4 separate regions of the Homo sapiens genome follow, and regions 2, 3 and 4 are each linked to region 1. The links are contacts of gene promoters, found by promoter capture Hi-C in blood cells and fetal thymus (Javierre and others, 2016). All regions are on one chromosome and are shown on one strand. Each heading gives the region's core, a stretch centred on a gene start or on the middle of the fragment in contact. The rest is flanking DNA. Distances are from core to core; before and after follow the strand shown. Region 1 holds the start of TLL1 (tolloid like 1). Region 2 has its middle 110 kb from the start of LINC01179. Region 3 has its middle 73 kb from the start of LINC01179. Region 4 has its middle 130 kb from the start of MIR578.

Region 1 (2,728 bases), core at 68-2,567:
AGACCCAGTTTTGCAAAGAACACTTGGTCAGTTCAGTTCCACCTAGCCTTCCTATACTTTTAGTTTAAGTTGAAAATACTTGGTACTTTTTCAAGATTGGCTTCTTACTTTTCTCTAACAAACATGAATAAAACCTAGTAAAATCTCCAAACCAAAGATGACTTTATCTGTCAAAGTTGTGTGTGTGTGTGTGTGTGTGTGTGTGTGTGTGTGTGTGTGTTTACCTTCATACATTCCTCTAGATGATAACTTGGATAGGGGGAACACTAGTCAAATAATATGTAAGGCTTTTTTTTTTTTTACAAGTCCTTGCTAAAGTGACAGTTTTAAAGATTTAGTTGGAAAAGGAAAGCTCCCAATCACCAGTCCCTTGGAAGCTTGTTGGGGGAGAAGTCATCTCACCTATTTTGGAAACTACTTGCAGATGTGGGGAAACCTCGGAATTGCTCACAACAGGGGTTTTACAGAGATTTCCTCTGATTTTTTTCCTCCCCAATTTCCCACAACCTGTGTTTGTCTTGAGTCTGCTCGGCTGACATGTGGTTTACCTCGCTGACCCTCCTGCCAGGTTTTACACCCTCTCCTCTGAAGAAGTAAAACATTACTGAAGCCGAAGGATACTGAGCAACTCTGCTCATGGGCGCCAGAACTGTCACAGAAAATTTGCTTCCCGAGTATTCCATCCAGCTTCCCTTCCTGCGCCCACGTGAGCCATAGCGCCAGCCCATCGGCAAGGTCTCAGCGTTTCCTGCTGCTGCAATCTGTAACTCGATTTTGGATTTTTTTTTTAATTGCAGTTCTGAGGATCTTAGTTCTTAGCAAAACTTTGTTGGTTAGGAGACCAACAGTAGTCTGTTTATTTTCTTACCAAAATCGTGAAGACTCGCACACTTTTCCTCCATTCCTGCGCTGCTCTAAGGTTAAACAGCAGCAAAGGAAAGAAATACACACTCGCTGTTTATTTGGGGGGAGGGGAAATATGGATTTGCAGCTAAGTTATCACGATCCTTCGCTCCACCCCCGGTCTGGCACTCTCAACTGACACGTACATCATCTATTAATTGCTGTTTGCGTACACAGATACATAATATATTCATTTTTATCTTTGGTAAAATATAAATGGAATTGTCAGCGCGCTCCTGTCTGTTTGTTTGTCTAAGGCTATCAAAAGAAGTCAAGAGAGGAGGCTGTGGTCCGGATCCTGACCCTGATTGTATGAATAAGTAAGCAGGATGCAAGTGATTGGGTTAGATGGTGCGAATATTTTTTTTTTTCAAGTTAGGAAGAGGGTAAAAAGACAGGCTGGCGGGGGGAAGGCAAACAGTGCATCCCCAAATCCTCACACTTTTGCTCTCTTGCAGTCAGTTGCTTTGCTGGCTTCTGCAGGCTTTTAAGGTCTCGCGGCGTAGAAATGCCTGGCCCCCACCCCCTTCCTCGGTCTCCCCTTTCAATTCAGATGTGCTGATGTGCAGACCGGATTCATCTTCTCGGAGCTGCGGCGGCGGCTTTGGGCTCAGGCGGCGGCGGCTCGCGCTCGGCCGCGGAGTCCTGGCAGCAGCGGGGACGCGGCGCGGGAGTCCGAGCTCTGGTGGCAGCTGAGCCCGCGGGGCGCCGCTCGCCGAGCCGCGGCCGCGGGAAGTTCGGCAGCCAGAAGGACGACCTGGCAGGCTGCGAGCGCCAGCGCCGCCAGAGCCGAGTTTGCCTGCGCCCTCCCCGCCTCCGAGTGCAGAGTTCCTTACCTGCCCTCCGCCCACCCGTGGGCCCCTAGCCAACTTCTCCCTGCGACTGGGGGTAACAGGCAGTGCTTGCCCTCTCTACTGTCCCGGCGGCATCCACATGTTTCCGGACACCTGAGCACCCCGGTCCCGCCGAGGAGCCTCCGGGTGGGGAGAAGAGCACCGGTGCCCCTAGCCCCGCACATCAGCGCGGACCGCGGCTGCCTAACCTCTGGGTCCCGTCCCCTCCTTTTCCTCCGGGGGAGGAGGATGGGGTTGGGAACGCTTTCCCCGAGGATGCTCGTGTGGCTGGTGGCCTCGGGGATTGTTTTCTACGGGGAGCTATGGGTCTGCGCTGGCCTCGATTATGATTACACTTTTGATGGGAACGAAGAGGATAAAACAGAGACTATAGATTACAAGGACCCGTGTAAAGCCGGTAAGTGGCTCTCCAGGTTGGGACGGTGGCGCGCCGGGGGCCGCTGCGCTGGGTTTCCCATGGGTGGCGGTGGGAGCTCACCTGTTTCCTTCCCTCCCGCGTCAGCCCCTCCGCCGCCCCTCCTTCTCTCCCCCTCCTTTTCCTTCCCTTCCCCACCCGCAAGTGGCAGCCGCTGCGGCCCCAGTTGACTAGAGTTCTGTGCCAGTGGGATCCACTGCCAAGCTCCCATCTCCCAGTTTGGGAATAAGGTCCTAGAGTTTCTGATCCCTCTCCCCTCCCCCAGCAAAACGAAACAAGTCGTAAATATAGCTTGCTGCTGTAGGTTTTAAATTCCAACACTCAGCGGGCTTTATGCATATGGAAGGGACACCGTCTTCTTTCCCCTCTCCCCCAGGGCGCGGTTTCCCAGCGCTTGTTCGAGAGCGAGTTGGCAGGGTTCCCCAAAAGATACAGGAGGATGGCATTGCTACCTGGAGACACCTTGGCTCCCTCTTTTACCAGGAATTTCAAGTGTGGGTTCCAGGCTAGAAAGGGATTGTGACAATCTCGGAAGAACTCACTTCTAGATGGGATT
Region 2 (3,133 bases), core at 205-2,704, 300 kb before region 1:
TAATGCATTCAGATCTAAAGAGATACTAGGAGATGTTTGCTGAAAAGACCAATATTCTCCTGGATGGTCTGATTTCAGGATGTGAGCTCTGGAACTGGAAGCTATTGTGCTACCCCAAGAGCCAGTCCAGGTGTGAGTGCAAGAAAAAGCATTTGATAAAACCTGAGGTTGACACCAACATGGCAGAAAAAGAATGGAGAGGAGAAAATTTGGGTTCCCACTGACATGATTTGAACTACTGAATTAGGACTCAAAGCTATATAAAAATGAATAGCCTTAGAACACAAAGCTGCATCTGGAGTATTTAGTTACTTGAGCTAATACATTTTTCTTATTATTTGAATATCATGGCCCTAAATCTAGGGTCTATTTTAGTATTTAAGTTGTTGTTTGCCAGCAAAAAATGGATCATCTCAATTATTTATCAACAGTAGAAAGAACAAATAAAATTGTGAGATATTTATACAAAGAAAATTATATGGCAGTAAAAATGAGTAGCCTAGATGTAAAAGAGAGATAGATATTAATGAGGAAAAGCTTGGTTAGTAATAAAAGAGAAGACACAAAACTGCTATTCAAACATTTGGAAGGAATATGCAAAAAGCTGTGGAGACATTTTCCTCGGAACAGGAGAAGGCAATACGGCACAAACATGAGGAAAGCAAACTGTTATTTATCTATTAACTTAAAAAAAAACCCCACATGTTTTCCTTCCAATATTTTGGGCACAGCAGCAATTCAAAGGGGCTGCTGAGAATTCTTTGTAATTCTTACCTTCTTTGAATTACCACCCCTAACCAACACTCCTAATAGGCTTTATCAGTTTATAACTTTAAAACTATTGATTTGAATAGCTCCCACGAAGGCTTAATGTTGTAAATTATCTTTGTTCGAGAGCAACAAGGTAAATAAAAAGTTATTTTCCCTTTCTTGTAAGTTATTTTACTTTTCTGAAATAAGGAATAAAGACTCCTATGTGGATCTTCCAGTTAAATATGATGGGTTGTTTGCATTCATTTACCTCTGTTTCCTTCTGAAAGCCCATTAAAATGACAGCAGAGCAAAATAAGTAAAGTAGAAATTCGCCAGGCTGGGCACGGTGGCTCACACTTGTAATCTCATCACTTTGGGAGGCCGAGGCAGGCGGATCACGAGGTTAGGAGATTGAGACCGTCCTGGTTAACACGGTGAAACCCCGTCTCTACAAAAAATACTAAAACAAACAAAAAAAAAATAGCCGGGTGTGGTGGCGGGCACCTGTAGTCCCAGCTACTCTGGAGGCTGAGGCAGGAGAATGGCATGAACCCAGGAGGCGGAGCTTGCAGTTAGCTGAGATCGCGCCACTGCACTCCAGCCTGGGCGACACAGCGAGACTCCGTCTCAAAAAAAAAAAAAAAAAAAAAAAAAAAAAAAAAAAGAAATTCACCAAAGACAAAAAAGAACCACACACAACATATGAGAGATGTCAACCAAATTTAGGAAGTTGCAAAGCAAGTGTGGCAACATTACCATTGGAGAGGATGAAGAACACTGGGAAGTGAATGTATTTTGGGGGAATGTAAATTGGTACAACCCCTGGACAACAATTTGGAATTGCCTAATAAAGCTGAAGGTACAAATTCACACAGTCCTATAATATTATGTCTAATTCTTCGGAAAAATTCTTGCAAGTGTGCGCCAGAAGACATGCCAGCAAATACTGGATCAACTCAATTTTGCATCAACAGTCAAAAGAACAAATAAATGAACTCCCAAATATAAATGGCATAATTCCATATATATATATATGAATAACATACTTCTTTTTTTTTTTTGAGACAAAGTTTCGCTCTTGTCACCCAGGCTGGAGTGCAATGGTGTCATCTCAGCTCACTGCAACCTCTGCCTCCTAGGCTCAAGAGATTCTCCTGCCTCAGCCCCACCTAGTACCTGGGATTACAGGCATGTGCCACCATGCCTGGCTAATATTTGTAATTTTAGTAGAGACGGAGTTTCACCATGTTGGCCAGGCTGGTCTCGAACTCTTGACCTCAGGTGACTGCCTTGGCCTCCCAATGTGCCAAGAGATTACAGGCATGAGCCACTGTGCCCAGCCAACACTATACATATAATATTATATATATATAAACACAATATATATAATATTATATATAAACTCTATATAATGTTTATATGTAATATATATTAATATATATAATATATACTGTTAAAAATTAAGTAGAATTAAAAAGTATGTTATTTAGCAGTAACATGTATAGTGTATGCAGAGACACTATATGAAGAAGCAAGGTCATGATGAGCACAAGCCATTGACATGATAATTATACTCAGAACAGAAGAAGGGGAAGTGACTGGGAAGGGACTCTCCAAGGAAAGCTTCAAAAAGCATCAGTAATGCTCTGTTTATTAGGCTGAGAGGCAGGTACATGTTTATTTTTTTAAAAAATAATAGTTCCTATATCCATAATTTTCTGTGTGTGTGCTGTATTCGCCCTGCCTCCTCCAAGAAAGTTGTGTGGTAAATGGCTTGGGGAAGCCAACAAGAAACAGAATGATTTACCTATCAGGACCCCAGAAAAAGCTCTGGAATTTCAGGGACCAGATTCCTCTGAAAGCATGAGTTTGACCGGTAAGAAGGAAAATGAGAAGATTAAGAGTCTGTATAAAGAACATGTAAATCTGGGTTTTTAAAAATACTTTTTAATTTTTGTGGGTACATAGTAGGTGCATACATCTATGGGGTACACGAGATCTAAACCTGAAAAATTTCCCCAGTATCTGGCACAACCAGCAATGATCACTCCCAACTAACCTCCACTTGCCCCCTGACCTTTCCACATACACATATATTTATCTGGCGGGAGAATGGAGATTTATTTTCCAGAAAAATAATGAGTAAGACAGGGTCTAGAATGAGGAGACGCTAGACACAGCTGAGGACAATTCTGAGTGTGGACCGGACCAGCAGGAAAAAAAAAGAAAAGAATTAGAGAAACAATAGGTAGAGCCACCTACCAGCCCTTTACCCACTCCAATCCCATCCCTTAGGCAGGAGATGGGGTAATATTTCTCTGGAGAGTTAGATTAACGTAAGGAAAAGGACTTGATGATACTGATATTTCGGAGTCCCTAC
Region 3 (3,019 bases), core at 279-2,778, 260 kb before region 1:
TGTTGTGCCAGAAATAATATACGCATTGTCAGCCACCGCTAAGCAATTTCTGACTCTAATCAACAAGATAAGGAAAATCTGGAGCAGGGTAATGTGAGGATAAGTAAATCAGTTCAATTTCTCTGACTGCTTGAGGACCTATCACCTTCCATAGAAGGGAGGTTATCAAGTTAAAAACAATTTCATGTAGCCATTTTGGGGTGCTATATATTTAATCTGTCCTTTTTAATAGTAGTTAAGAGTGTAAACAAAAGCAATCAAAGTAGCACCATTATCTGTCATCACTGCTATCACTTATTCAAAGAAGTCCACTCAAGTACTTCTACCTTAGATGCTAAACGAATTAGAGATTTACATGGCAACTTTAATGAAAACGGATACTTTGACAATAATCAAATTGACTGCAATAATGAAACTGATAAGAACATCACTTAAATAGAAGAATACATTAGATGTATATTATAGAGGTTTCAGTTTCATTTTACATCATTGAGCTCTTCACATCAGGGAGTTTATAGTAGTTCTGTGTCTACTATTATTAAGGGAATAACCCTGTTGGTGATGCCAGCATTTCAAAGCTGCTTTTGTGACCTGTGTATCTTCACCTATTGTTGTTGTCTTTTCTGTGTTAGAGAGTGTGCTCAGACCCCTTTTCAGGTTCATTCAATCTCTATTCAATTCCAGTTCCTCTAACGAGGCTTTGCTGCTTTTGCTGTGAATCCTTAGACATTCACGAGCCCTTTGTCCTGTACTTTTTATTTCTGGTTGACTTTCTTCTTTGGCGCTCTCCTTTTCTTGCAGCCTGTTCATGCTCTGTGTCCTGCACGACAATAAAATCTTTCACATTTCTTTTCCCTGCAGGCTGCCCTTTCCAAGCTTTACACTATGTACTGTTGTCTTTTTATTCTCTCATTCTCTTTTCAGCTTAAGCCTGCACATAACTCTTTCTGGTGCTACTGCTATTTCTCTATTCCTCACCACACCTAATTTATGCTGACAGCATTTATATGAAAGCTTACACACTCCATGCATCTCTGTCATCCTTTAGTTTATTTCTCATTCTGTGATGGTGAAAGGATTTACTTATTTTCCCTGAGGAAACACTGTTTTTTTTGGGAATAAGACTGGTATTTGACAGGAGTCCTGAGGAGCTCATGCTCCCAAGAGACAAGCAAACAAATAAGTAAACAGCAGACACATACAAACGTTTTTCTAGGTGGCATTTAAAATTTATTCTTTTATTTACAGCATTTCAAAGCTGCAGCGAAAGCACTATAAAAAACATATAAAACAAAAAGACTTGGACCTCCTACCTCTGGGAGTTGAAAGATTTCTTCATTCCATTTACGCTTGTCACATGGCTTATAACATTCTTCCAAAGACATAATATTCAACTGAAAATGTGACATGAGGTCATAATATCTTGAGTTAATGCAACACTTTTGTTGTATATAATATAGGTGTTTGTTCTTCAATTTTGAAAAGTACCCAACTTCTTTTGTCTGCAATAAATCATTACCCTGTAAACTTGAAGAGTTTAATATTTAAACTCTTCAACTTAGAGTTATTATTAATTAGGTCAATGGCTCTAAAACATTTATGTGGAAGAAAATGGTCCCCTTTCATAGGTAGCAGGAGCTGTTGACAGATTCCTCTTAGTCAAATATATTATAAACTTGGATGGTAAATAAATGAGTAAACGCTAACAGCATGAAGCAAACTTGCCAATGCATTTTATTCTGATCTGTGGGTTATTTAGGACCCAATCTTTTTTCTTTTTAAGAAAAACTGTCCATCAGATTCAAATACACAATGGCTAATGTGGATAAAAGACCATCAGGCATTTATATGAAACCACATGACATCTTTTCACCAGTCATCTCAATTTGAAATTTGAATTTAAACTCATCAAAGAAAAAAAAACCCTATTAACACTTTGCACGTTATCTAAAGAAAGATTCAGTATTTAACTTTTTCTGACAGTAGAGCAAAAACATTTAAATATATGTCAGATGGATGTGGAGTATTTCAAAAGGACGAACAAAAGCTTTAATCCCTTTGTGAACTAGGAAGACAGATACACTATACGAGGAAGACTGCACAGGAGACCAGGAGAGAGACCACCAAATATGTGGTCTCAATCCAGTCCGTTAGAATGTAGCGGGCAGCTTGTCTGTTAATTTCTTTTCTCTGAGCCTGGGTCACCTCCCACAAGGTTTACAATAACAGGAAATCCCAAACCAGCTTCTGAACAGTTACTTTCTTCAGACACATGCTAATTTATTACAGAGGATTTAGAAGGTATTTCATGGAAGGAGTGATATGTTACTTTAAATTGCAAAACTGTAACAGAATAATGAACGTCACATTAGTTAAATAAGCATGGTGCGGTAAGCAAACGAGCATGACACTGGCAGAGGAATCACTTTTTGTAGCATGTGGCGTCTCACATTGCACTTGTTGTTCATGACATTTAAGTGAATATATATTTTAACAAAGGTCCTTTTATGTGCACACACATGAAATACAGTAGGCACTCAACTATTTGTTGAATGAAAATAGCAGTTCATTATGTATAAAGAAAAAATTGGTCTGATATCATCAGAAACTGAGTTTATCAATGAGTACTTTGCTGTGAGGGGCTGAGTTGTGCCTTGTAGGTTGTGTAACAGCAACCCTGGCCTGTAGACCCACCAGTTGCTAGTAGCAACTCCCCCTGCTGTGACAACCAATAATGTCTCCAGACGTTGCCAAATATCCCCTGGGTGGCCTATCTCCTCTGGCTGAGAACCACTGATGAGAAAGGAAACTACAATTAGCATAACTGAGTTTTGCCTACATAGCTTTCTGTTTTCTAGTCTAGTTTAGGGATGAATGAGAAGGTTCACTTTCATTTTAACTATAGTAAATAAATGTATGTGTATTAGTTTCCAAAGGCTGCTGGAATGAAGTATTAATACCACAATTTGGGTGACTTAAAGAACAGAAATTTATTGACTCACAGTTCTAGGGGAAAGAA
Region 4 (2,801 bases), core at 176-2,675, 360 kb before region 1:
GGACCATGTCCTCCAACTTTGCAGTTTGGCTAACTGTAAGTAAGTCACCTGTTCACAATCACCAGAGCCTGAGCCAAGAATAGAACTCATATGATTGTAACACAAATACATGTAAGTACATTTATAACACAAAATGCTCTCACTAGCCATGTCCCAACCAGTGCTCCAACCTGCTGGAGCATCTCTCAGTGGAAACAATGGCAAACAGAGCATCTGGAAAGTGGGATGTCCGCAGTGGGAGGAAATACGGAGGGAGCCACCAGTGGGATGAAGCAGCAGGACCAGGTGGGAGTAATTGGGAGGTCTTGGGATTGGATCAGTTGGCACATGGCGGGAGCAAGATCTGTAACCTTTATACATCTGCAGGGAAGCCCTCAGCTCTACTGAAGTAGTGCTTCCATCCATCAAAAGCACAGGTGATGAGGCTCTCTCTAGCATTTCATCCAAGAGCTCTTAGGCTGATGTATGGCAGTCCAAGACTTCAGCTTGGATTCAGTCCCATTTCCGTAGGTTTCTGGCCTATGCCAACCCAGTAGGATGAGCTAAGAGATTACAAGATCACACCTACCTTTGCTCCACAGATCTGAAATTGTTGTTTTCCTCTTGAAATTTCAAAATTCCAGGAAAAGGAGTACAGCTGTAAAAATAATAGAGTGCTCACCTTGAAGCTGATGGCAGATGTATTATAACACAGTGAAGCAATCATCCAACACGTTTCATATTGCAAAGTGCCCAGGAGCACCGTGAGGATTTGTGTTCAGTCACGCCATCCGTTCTCTTCAAAGAGAACAACAGAAGCAATCTTAATCCCCCGTAAAATCTGCTATAATGTTCTGTTTGACTTTAAGGCTTTTTCATAACTGTCAGTTTAACTGTTTCAACTCACTTGAAGAGTCAATTTAGTCCAGCAGACTGGCTCTATGAAAAGCAATTGAAATTAGTTATTTGGGTACATTATCAGGTCAAGGGCATCTTGAAACTGTCAAGTTGGCTGTGTATATGGTTAGGGGGCTTGGGGAAAGCATGGAGGAAAGTAGATAATTAGGCACCCACTATATACCAGGTATTTTTTCTACTTCATTTAATCTGCACAACATACTGCATAATCCCCATTTTATAGATGACAAAACTGAGGCTCAGGGAGATTAAGTAATTCTCTCAAGGTTGTAAAAATGGCAGAGACAGCAGTAAAACCCAGACCTTTCTGCTACCAAGTCTCTCTCTCTATGTATCTATTTTTGCAGGGCAATAATTTATTAAAGCAAGAAGCTGAAACCTTTGCATTCTGCAGTGAGGATCAGGGTATCACTGAAAGACAGTGGAAACCAGGATAAAAGAGTTTTTACACCTCAGAGATTAAATTTCACCAATATTTTCACCAATATTTTTAAAATTAAGAGTCTGTTCCCAAGGGACATCTTGTCTGTGCGTTTCTTCACTGCCATCTTGGCAGCAATAGCTTCCAGAAGTGCATTAAGATTGGCAAGTTGTAACTTGAACAGAGGATCCTGAGTGAATAAGAAGCCTGTGATTTTAGTAGCAAGGGCTGGACAGAGCACTGCATTGGCCTCCTAGCAGCAAAAGGCCAGAATGAGTAGTAGGAGGCAGACTGACAGCCTCATGGCATCTTATTTTGCTTTGTCTGCTACCAAGCCTTGATCTCCCCAGTATTCCACATTATCTACCTGTTAGAAATATAATTCAGAGGCCAGATGTGGTGGATTATGCCTGTAATCCCAGCACTTCGGGAAGCCGAGATGGGTGGATCACCTAAGGTCAGGAGTTCAAGACCAGCTTGGCCAACATGGTGAAACCCCATCTCTACTAAAAATGCAAAAATTAGCTGGGCATGGTGGCGGGCACCTGCAATCCTAGCTACGTGGGAGGCTGAGGTAGGAGAATTGCTTGAACCCAGGAGACAGAGATTGCAGTGAGCTGAGATAGCTCCACTGCACTCCAGCCTGGGTGGCAGAGAAAGAGTCTGTCTCAAAAAAAAAAAAAAAGAAATATAATTCAGAAATATATTACACCACCACATTATCCTAGGAGAATGTTAACTTAAGAATCTAAGTATGAAATTCTGAGGTATGACCTACACTTTAGCTCTGATTTATGGTGAGGAGCGTGTGTATATTTTTTCTAATGGATTGGTTAATTTTTCCCTGATCTTGTTGAAATGGCTAGGACTCAAATAAGTTTAACAAATGTTCATGAAACATAGTTTGTCTAACCATTCTCCTTTTCATGGGAAAAGATTGATTTGTGTGTGTGTGTGTGTGTGTGTGTGTGTGACAAGGTCTTACCCTGTTGCCCAGGATGGAGTACAATGGTCTGATCACAGCTCACTGCACCCTTGGGCTTAAGGGCTCCTTTCACCACAGCCTCTCGAGTAGCTACAACTACAGGCACACAGCACCATGCCCAGCTAATTATTATTATTTTGTGTGTGTGTGTGGAGATGGAGTCTCATTTTGGTGCCCAGGCTGGTCTCAAACTCCTGGCTTCAAGCCATTCTCTCACCTTGGCCTCTCAAAGCACTGGTATTACAGGTATTAGCCACTGAACCTGGCCTGGAAAGACTGATTTTGTAACCAATGTTTTTGTAATCAATATGTTTTTCCTTTTCTAGGAAAGATTCCAATTTATAAAATGCAATGAAAGTCATCAATTAGTTTACTCATATTTCCTTTATCTCTTATACAGTTACACCCAGAATTGTGTTATACTATCTCTTAAATATATACACATTATATTATAATATGCTCAATATTTTACTTTGAAATGGTCTCTGCTATATGATG

Evidence for each region. The method cuts DNA at HindIII sites, captures the fragments that hold promoters and counts their contacts. A CHiCAGO score of 5 or more calls a contact.
Region 2: a fragment that was not itself captured here is called in contact with the fragment with the promoter of TLL1 in region 1 in 1 of 17 cell types (endothelial precursors); the score reaches 6.5 in endothelial precursors.
Region 3: a fragment that was not itself captured here is called in contact with the fragment with the promoter of TLL1 in region 1 in 1 of 17 cell types (endothelial precursors); the score reaches 8.5 in endothelial precursors.
Region 4: a fragment that was not itself captured here is called in contact with the fragment with the promoter of TLL1 in region 1 in 1 of 17 cell types (endothelial precursors); the score reaches 9.1 in endothelial precursors.

The regions. Positions count from the first base shown.
Region 1 is chr4:165,871,920-165,874,647 of GRCh38, forward strand. TLL1 (tolloid like 1) reads left to right here and starts at 1,318. Exons shown (of 21, transcript NM_012464.5): 1 at 1,318-2,154. The coding sequence starts at 1,986. The HindIII fragment of the contact is 7,346 bases long and covers 376-2,728 here.
Region 2 is chr4:165,573,382-165,576,514 of GRCh38, forward strand. No RefSeq gene overlaps it. Among named protein-coding and RNA genes, the nearest start is that of LINC01179, 110 kb to the right of the region's middle. The HindIII fragment of the contact is 1,839 bases long and covers 536-2,374 here.
Region 3 is chr4:165,610,378-165,613,396 of GRCh38, forward strand. No RefSeq gene overlaps it. Among named protein-coding and RNA genes, the nearest start is that of LINC01179, 73 kb to the right of the region's middle. The HindIII fragment of the contact is 1,033 bases long and covers 1,013-2,045 here.
Region 4 is chr4:165,515,879-165,518,679 of GRCh38, forward strand. It overlaps the pseudogene SCGB1D5P. Among named protein-coding and RNA genes, the nearest start is that of MIR578, 130 kb to the left of the region's middle. The HindIII fragment of the contact is 3,359 bases long and covers 1-2,801 here.